3 separate regions of the Homo sapiens genome follow, and regions 2 and 3 are each linked to region 1. Evidence: promoter capture Hi-C in human tissues and cell types (Jung and others, 2019). All regions are on one chromosome and are shown on one strand. Each heading gives the region's core, a stretch centred on a gene start or on the middle of the fragment in contact. The rest is flanking DNA. Distances are from core to core; before and after follow the strand shown.

Region 1 (3,038 bases), core at 281-2,780:
GGACAGAGAAAGGTCTGAAATGCCTGTTGGGTGAGGAGTGGCACTGAGATTAGTAAAAAATCACTGCCTTGACCACTTCAAAACATTATAAATAAATGTTTAAATATTTCCTTAATATAATTTACTAACAGATAATTCGAACGAATGTCAAGGAATAACACACTATCATTCAGCTACCATATATATATAGCTATATATTTCAGTTTGTGAAATAAACTAGTATTTAGAACAAGCAATTGAAAGCCGCAAATAAAGATGATGAAACAAGTTGGTAAATACTTTTTCTAAGCAAACTGGTTGTAGATTTAGCATTGTTTAAATTACTGTCAATTTTTTCTTATGAGGAGTGATTTCATCATTTGTTTAAAACCTGGCTTTTGACACAGTTTTTCTGAAGTCTTTAGAAATTTGAAAAATTATCTCGCATGACTCTGTATTTCATGAAATACCAATATTTTAACATTTCCCTGTAAACAATAAAACGTACTAATATGGATTATGAATGTGAACAAATTGTGAATGGACTTTTTAAGAAAGTAGATTAATTAAATATCTGTAACCAGAAAATACATTTTTAAAATGTAGGTTTGTGTAGTTTTACTTCTATACCTTGCCACATAACATTTTGTGATAGACAAATGCTCTTTGTTTAGAATTTCTCTTGTAGAGAAAGCTTCATTCAGTTGTTTCTTTCCCTTTATTTATATGCCTGTGTGCATGATGTCTAAATCACTGGTCAGGAGTTCCCTGGGGATTTTCGTATCTGACTACATGGCAAGATTCCAGACCCAAAGTAAACCTTTCAGAGAGTGGGAATGAGTGGGAGGATGTCGCCCTGGGCATGGTGCTTAGGAGGCCAGATTTCCCTAAACCTGCTCTGCTGGGAGCCCTAGGAAGCCTCAGATGCAGTCTGCTGTCCAGGTATACTCACAGGGTATGGGGTGGGGGACTGTCAATTTCTGAATAGACTTTGTCTCATCCACACGACAACATATTTTAATTTTAAAGGCGAACGTCAACCTATTTAGAAAACTATAAGTGTGACTGATGCATTCATTATTTAATAACTCCGGGGTGAAACTTGAGGTGAACGGTTTCACCCTTTCATACTCAGGAATGGAACTAGTCCTCGGTACCGTGCACAGTCTGACCTCACGCTCGCACGCTGGGCTCCCGGCCTCCTGGCAGTGCACTTAAGTGTACCCCGCGTGTGCCCGGCGGACTCCCGTGCACACCGCCGCCGTGCTGTTGAGTACGAAAGACCCCCGAGAGGAGCTCGCAGATGAGAGCCTAGCTGTTGCTGTGAGACTGACTGCGGGTGGCAGCCGGCAAGAAGGAACTGCCAGTACCGACCCTGGCGCTCCCCACCAACTGCGGCGCAGCCTCCTCTGCGGTGCCCGCCCTTCGGCATCACTGCAGTCCCTGTAGCAAAGCTAACTTTAAAAATTTAAATAAAATAATAATTTTTTAAAGGCCCGAAAACTCCGGCTCCCACCCCTCCCCCAGCCTGCCCGGCGGCGGCGGCGCTCAGTGAGTGACACGGCGAGCGTGAGCCGCGGCCCCAGCCGGGCCGAGCGCGCTGCCTGAGCTGAGCCGCCGTAGGTGAGGGGCCCGCGTCCCCGCCCGCCCTGGGCGCCGCGCCTGGCACTGATCCTGCCGGTCGCCCACTGTCGCCGCCGCCGCCGCCCGCGGGCACCATGACAGCTCTGAGCGCTGGGGTTACAGGTTGGTCACCGCCGCCGGTGCCCGGGAGGCTGCGGCGCGGCCGGCTCCGTGCCCTGCGCCCGAGGCCCGCGATGCGCGCTCGTTAGTTCCTTGGCCGGTCCGGGCCAGGACGGCTCAGGGGCGCTGGGGCTGCGAGAGGGGCTGCTAGAGGGGCTGCGGGCGGGGGCCCCGCGCGGGGGAGGGGTGGGGAGGGGCGCCTCCACCCGAGAGCGGGGCGGTGGGGTCCTTGCCGGCCTGGCCGGGGCGCGGGAGCCGCGATGCGCCCTCCCTATTCCTGCGCGTGGGTGTCGGGGGCGCCTGCCGCGGGATGCCCCTGGGCTGGCTTGGGAAGCCCAGGGCCGGCGACACCTCGGGCCTGCCCCGCCTGGGCATCTAGCAGGTGTTGGGGGGCAGGTGGCTGAGGACGAGGCCACTGGGCATCACTACAGCGCTGCACCTGCCCCCTCGGCACCAGGGCCGCTGCCTGGGTAAACCTCTGGGCCAACGCGCGGGTGGGGAGGTGGGGGTGGGCAGCCTGGCTCCAGCAGGTCTCCGCGGGGGCTCCGCGGCCTTGCCCCACCCCCATGCTCCTGTGGATTGCTCCTTGCTAAATGTCCCTTATGATATTCATTGGCCTTGTTAAGCAGCCGTCATTAGGGTGGCTACACCGAACGCAAAACAGTGTCCTGCCAAGCAACACCATTTTGTCACTGAATCTTTAAGACACCAGCAAGGATGGCCTGGCTGGGATCCCTCTGGGGGCCCAGATCGCAGTCATTTTGCTGACTTAATGTTCCTCTTTCAGGATGGTGTGAGAATGCTGAACTCAGACCCTTAGTGCTTGAAATACCTTAGAATAAATCTTTCAGTTTCAGGTACAATTTTTCAGACACTGTATTATTAAGGATGTGTGAATACACGCTCACTTTCAGGCCTCAGAAGGTTTTACTCTTAATCTGGTGTTCGTGTGGTCATCAGCTAGGCCCGACTGCCCTGGTGGTGAAATGTGGGTTGAGGACCAGTGACCTTCGTGTTAGTAGTTGGTGGATAACACCTCTAATAGGGGATCAAAAATTAACAGGTGGCGATTTTGAAATATATATGTATGTATATATATATATATATGTGTGTGATTTGTATGTTCATAACTACAACTGTGATTTGATATGGCCTGGGAGAGGAGCGGTTTCACTATGGTAGTTACCCCTGAGGCAGATGCATCTCAGGACTGGCTTTTTAAATTCAAAGATAAGGTTTCCACAGTTCTAAATAAAAATCATGGCTTCCCAAACATCTGCAACGAGAAACATTTACTCCCTAACTGGTTGGCTGTC
Region 2 (3,038 bases), core at 206-2,705, 260 kb after region 1:
CCGACACAAATGGTGGTCAGGGGTGAGGATGAAGAAAGTTACAGGAGAGCTAAGTTTTGCAAGATGAGCCTTGTGGACTTCACGGAGGTGTGGTGGGTCAGGGGAGGGGAGCACAACTCCAGGGAGAAGGGAAAGCCTCTGTGCACCCAGAATGCAGGAAGACCAGGGTGGAGTGGTATAGAGTAAGTGTGGAAAAGTCAGCAGGGCATGAACCATGCAGTGCCTTGAGAAACACGGTAAGGTCATTTACCATTTGTTTTTTGTTTGTTTGTTTGTTTTGAGACAGTCTCACTCTGTCACCCAGGCTGGAGTGCAGTGGTACAGTCTTGGCTCACTGCAACCTCTACCTCCAAGGTTCAAGCGATTCTCCTGCCTCAGCCTCCCGAGTAGCTGGGATTACAGGCGTGCGCCACCACTCCTGGCTAATTTTTATATTTTTAGAAGAGACGGGGTTTCACCATGTTGGCCAGGCTGGTCTTGAACTCCTGACCTCAGGTGATCCGCCTGCCTTGGCCTCCCAAAGTGCTGGGATTACAGGCATGAGCCACCATACCAGCCAGAACATTTACCTTTAATGTTTACCTTTAACCTGAGCCACTGAAAGCTTATAAGATGGGAGGCAGTGGTGAACCAGAGAGCTGTTTGGAAAATAAAATCAAGAGGGACTTGGTGATAGGTTGGATTTAAAGACATGAGTGAGAGAGTCTCAAAGATGATTCCTGGTTTCAGGTTTCTACAGTTGCATGAATGAAATGTCATTAACTGAGTTAAGAAACACTAGCATACAACCGTATTTGGGGGAAACGTTCATCAACTCAGCCTTGGGCATGTTGAGTTGGTGAATCTTTCAAGATGTCTGAACAGAGATGCCTAATAGTTGTGTATAGGTCTGGAGTTCAGGGGAGAAGGATGGCTGCCTAGAGATATAAATGTGGACATTCAATGTAATTCTCAATTATTTATTCAGGTGCTGTTCTAGACATGTGGCGTAGGTCAATGAACAGAACAGACAAAAATGACTGCCTCCTTTGAGCTTCAGTCCTAGTAAAGTTCTCCATGTTTTCATAATACTGGAAGGTGTAAATCTGGATGAGATTGTATAGGGTGGGAAGAAAAAATATGCTGGAGCCTTGAGGAAGAGCAACATTTAATAACTGCTGGTGTTTGCCTTTATGGTAACTCAACCTGTCTCTGTTTTCCTCCTTGTGTATTTTCACTTTCAGTTCCATTGCAAATAGTCAACATTTTCTGTATCTCAGGTTCAAAACTTGATCAATAAGAACAGATTTGGTCGATCCAGCTAATCAATATGATTCCTTTTAGGCAGGAATTTCATCTCTGATTGCCTCGCAATGCTGGCCAGTCTTATAGAAAGTCCCTGTCTTTGGCCCGGTTTCTGGCTCAACCAGCTTTGACAAGGGTGATGAGTTACTTTGTACCATAAGGCAATTTATAAGGAAGAAACACCTTCATAAAAAAAAACAAAAACAAAACAAAACAAAAAACAGAACAGGCAGACATTTGGAGAACTCACCTGCATATTACAGAGAGATTTAATATGTTTATCTATTGCATGCCACTGTAATTTAACAGTCTAGGCAAAGGTAACAGAAAAGAGGAGCTGAGATAATCCAGCTCCTCCCCAACCACTCATTCAGGAGGAAGCAGATGTGAGTGCCATTGTAGGGTCCTGAGGGAGTATTGGTTCCCATTTCCTAGCCTGCCCCTCCTCCCCACGCTTGGTCAGTTACACCTTCATATGGCTCCTGTTCTCACTTTACCTCTCTGCTTTATGATAAGCGCAGATAAAAGGCAAGAGACACAGACAAAGCGAAAAAGAAGGAAGAGGGAAGGAAATTTAGAAGGGACCTTGCAAACATTTTCCTTCCACTGAGTGGTCCACAGGAGGAAACAATGAAAACTTCTCTCTCCTTTGGGAGGCCAAGGCGGGCAGATCACAAGGTCAGGAGATCGAGACCATCCTGGCTAACATGGTGAAACCCTGTCTCTACTAAAAATACAAAAAATTAGTCAGGCATGGTGGTGTGTACCTGTAGTCCCAGCTACTCAGGAGGCTGAGGCAGTAGAATCGCTTGAACCCAGGAGGCAGAGGTTGCAGTGAGCCGAGATCGCACCGCTGCACTTCAGCCTGGGCGACAGAATGAGACTCCGTCTCAAAATAAAATAAAATAAAAATAACAAAAAATAACAAAAAACAAAAAAAACCTTCTCTCTCACTAACAAAGAGATGTGATTTTGGAGAAATGTCTTCCCTCTCTTTCAGTTTTACCAAATCTAACTTGGGTATCTTTAGATCCGGTGTGCCCTCTTTTCTTTGATGACACGAGTCCTAACTCCTATATATTGTCTTATATGATTGTTTTATGTCATCCAAGCTGGCACTTATATCATCTCCCTGGTCTCATAGGCATTTAAATCTGGGCCCCTGCACTAGACCCTGACAAGATCTCTTCTAGATCTAAAATTCTCATCCGGGAAAGAGTCGAGAGCTGTCATTACTGGGACACCTGTAGCTGTATACTTCATTATGACAGATCTGTTGTTTATGTCCAGTGTCTCTTCTGATTTTGGGGTGTTCATGCTGCATGGTTTTCTAATATACGTAGTTCTAATATGTTCTCTGTTCATTACTGCGAATTTCTGCTCCGACCCCTGGCCACCTACACAAACCGCAATCCCCAGCATAGGCAACATGTTAGTAACCACCCGGAGGGGGCGACTGCAAGCCATGATGAAGAGCTGGGTCTACCATGTACCTGACCTGTGCTGCAAGCTCTGGCACTAGAGCTGGGGTCACAGGGCCCTAGATAAGTAATCTCCTCTGAGAATAGTCAGATTTTGTCAATACATACAATTTTCTCTTAGCAGAAATCTTGGTTGTATTAATAAATGCTGTCATTGACAGCATTGCTTTGTATTTGTACATGGATCAAATGAAAGAATAAAAGTCAGGAAAGTGATGATATTCATTCCTTGCCATTTACTTAATATGCCATCAAACTTTCCCACTTTCCTAT
Region 3 (3,038 bases), core at 233-2,732, 180 kb after region 1:
ACATATATCCATACATGCGTATCAAATTTTAAACTACATAAGATGTTGGCACAAACTTTAAAGACTAGGAAACATTAATTTAATCCCAAGTGTTTCTCTTCCTTGTCGATAAGGCTAAGTGTTTGCTCAACAACGGTTTATAATGAAAATATTAAAGGTTTATAAAACTTACCTTTACAGATTGTAATTACTCATACAGTATTATTTATAAATGCCTGTTACTTCATGATGGCACTTATAATTCTTATTTAACTTGTAATAATTGGATATCTTTTTTTAAATGTGATATATTGGATCACATTGCTTTCTAATTATGCAATAAACAGTAATTATTAGTTACATTCTTTGTTATTATTGAATATAGCAACACGCTCACTGTCCTGGTAAATACTTAGTCAAAATGATAAAATATGTCTACATGGTATTCTAGTCAAAAACACCTCAAATGTAGTCATTTTCCTGATTCAAACTTGGTCATTTATTTTTTATTTTATTTTATTTTATTTTATATTATTTTATTTTTTATTTTATTTTATTTTATTATTATTATACTTTAAGTTTTAGGGTACATGTGCACAATGTGCAGGTTAGTTACATATGTATACATGTGCCATGCTGGTGTGCTGCACCCACTAACTCGTCATCTAGCATTAGGTATATCTCCTAAAGCTATCCCTGCCCCCTCCCCCCACCCCACAACAGGCCCCAGAGTGTGATGTTCCCCTTCCTGTGTCCATGTGTTCTCATTGTTCAATTCCCACCTATGAGTGAGAATATGCGGTGTTTGGTTTTTTGTTCTTGCGATAGTTTACTGAGAATGATGATTTCCAATTTCATCCACGTCCCCTACAAAGGACATGAACTCATCATTTTTTATGGCTGCATAGTATTCCATGGTGTATATGCGCCACATTTTCTTAATCCAGTCTATCATTGTTGGACATTTGGGTTGGTTCCAAGTCTTTCCTATTGTGAAGAGTGCCGCAATAAACATACGTGTGCATGTGTCTTTATAGCAGCATGATTTATAGTCCTTTGGGTATATACCCAGTAATGGGATGGCTGGGTCAAATGGTATTTCTAGTTCTAGATCCCTGAGGAATCGCCACACTGACTTCCACAAGAGTTGAACTAGTTTACAGTCCCACCAACAGTGTAAAAGTGTTCCTATTTCTCCACATCCTCTCCAGCACCTGTTGTTTCCTGACTTTTTAATGATTGCCATTCTAACTGGTGTGAGATGGTATCTCATTGTGGTTTTCATTTGCGTTTCTCTGATGGCCAGTGATGGTGAGCATTTTTCCATGTGTTTTTTGGCTGCATAAATGTCTTCTTTTGAGAAGTGTCTGTTCATGTCCTTCGCATTTATATAATTTATCATGGAAACACTAGAATGTGCATTGATTGTTTTCTAAATAGATATTGTTAAATATTTGGGAAATAAAATGACAGTAGAATTTTAAAGAAGTAATTTTGAGAAACAGGACTCTAACCCCTTAGGAAAAAGAACATGCATTGCAACTTTATTGATTTTATTTATTAGTAATACCAAAATATTATTTTCAGAACAATATTCACTTTAACTGCCAGATCACAGGTAACTAGACACTTTTAGTACCTGGGGGAAAGGACATGCAAATATAATTCACAAAAAGTAAAAAGCAAAACCCCCTACAAACCCAGGCAAAAAGCTGAGCCCTTGTAATCACAGCTAAGCATATTGAAACCACAGAGGGTTTTCATAGTTCAAGCGCTCACTTCCCTCAGCATCCGTGGATGTAAATCTCTCCTCATTTGTTGAGTTATATCCTGAAGCTTAGCTATCATAAGTGACATGGCTGGGGCAAGAGATATACATGTTTAAAACTCTTGATACAAAATGTGCTTTCCAAACATTCCTGTGATTATAAGCTCTTGTGCACTGCTCTCTAGATTCACAAAGTTATCATGGCCATTGAGTACCTACCTTAGGGCATCATTGCACATAATTATAGAGAATATCCTTTATATCAAAACAACAGCATACCTTTTTTACAAAGCTATTAAAGTAGCCAAATTAAGAAAATTGGTGTTGCCTATTTCAGCAAAGGTACAGTATAAAATATATTCAGGGCCTTAAAATTGCTATAGTCTCTGACATGCCATTTTTCAGTAAAAAGTTAGAAAATAACATTTGTGTGCAAAATATTTATTATAGAATTAATGAGAGAAAAAAGAAAACTGTTTAAATGACAAACATTTGAGGAATAGCTTAATAAGTCATAACGCGAATTTAACCATAAAATTATAATTGTGATGAGTTTTTTATAACTTAGAAATATGACTGTTTTATTTAAACGATAAACAGCATAAATTATATTATATACATAACTACATATATGTATGTATATATTTATTATATACATATGTAAAATACCTATAAAATGGAAAAAAATGACTAGAAAGAAACCAATTTATTACAAATTATTAATCATCTCTAGTTTCCTACTCTTGTCATCATGTCTGATTTTCCTACTAGTCTGTTTTTTTACAAAATATCTAATATTAGCCTGCAAGGCTGTAACCATTTTATAGATAGACAGATGATAGATAGATAGATAGGTAGATGATAGATAGATAGATAGTAGATAGATAGATAGTAGATAGATAGTCAAATCACAGTGAAGTTTGCAATTTCAGTTTTGTCTTTGATTTTGGATTATTCTGTAATTGGTTCTGTTTAATTTATGTTAATGATTAGGTGATTTTCATTTGTATCTCTCTATACATGGCCATGCTTCTCTTTTTCTAATGTATTAATAATGAATAAAAATGATCTCAGTTAATTTGTGGCTAGAAAGTAAATCTCTTGAGAAACTTAGGTGTCACAAGGGTTTTTGCAAATTTGCATGTGGAGAATCCACTGTACCAGACAGAGCGGCTCTTTGTATAAAGGCCTACATTGGTCTTCCCTATTGGTCCTCACACTTCTCATTTCAATCAACCTTTCTTTACTGTGTTGGCAACAAGTCTTTCCTTAGACAATTTCATATTTCTCA

The links. Contacts are between HindIII fragments. The study calls those that stand out against the background at their distance.
Region 2: a fragment that was not itself captured here is called in contact with the fragment with the promoter of NALCN in region 1 in 2 of the 25 tissues and cell types used here (mesenchymal stem cells and small bowel).
Region 3: a contact is called between a fragment that was not itself captured here and the fragment with the promoter of NALCN in region 1, in 2 of the 25 tissues and cell types used here (H1 embryonic stem cells and dorsolateral prefrontal cortex).

The regions. Positions count from the first base shown.
Region 1 is chr13:101,415,000-101,418,037 of GRCh38, reverse strand. It overlaps NALCN (sodium leak channel, non-selective), which reads left to right and starts at 1,530. Exons shown (of 44, transcript NM_052867.4): 1 at 1,530-1,725. RefSeq lists enhancers at 1,628-2,178, 2,179-2,729. The HindIII fragment of the contact is 15,657 bases long and covers 1-3,038 here.
Region 2 is chr13:101,159,111-101,162,148 of GRCh38, reverse strand. The region is part of intron 15 of NALCN (sodium leak channel, non-selective); the gene reads left to right. Among named protein-coding and RNA genes, the nearest start is that of LINC00411, 220 kb to the right of the region's middle. The HindIII fragment of the contact is 6,967 bases long and covers 1-3,038 here.
Region 3 is chr13:101,234,422-101,237,459 of GRCh38, reverse strand. The region is part of intron 12 of NALCN (sodium leak channel, non-selective); the gene reads left to right. Among named protein-coding and RNA genes, the nearest start is that of NALCN, 180 kb to the left of the region's middle. The HindIII fragment of the contact is 6,808 bases long and covers 1-3,038 here.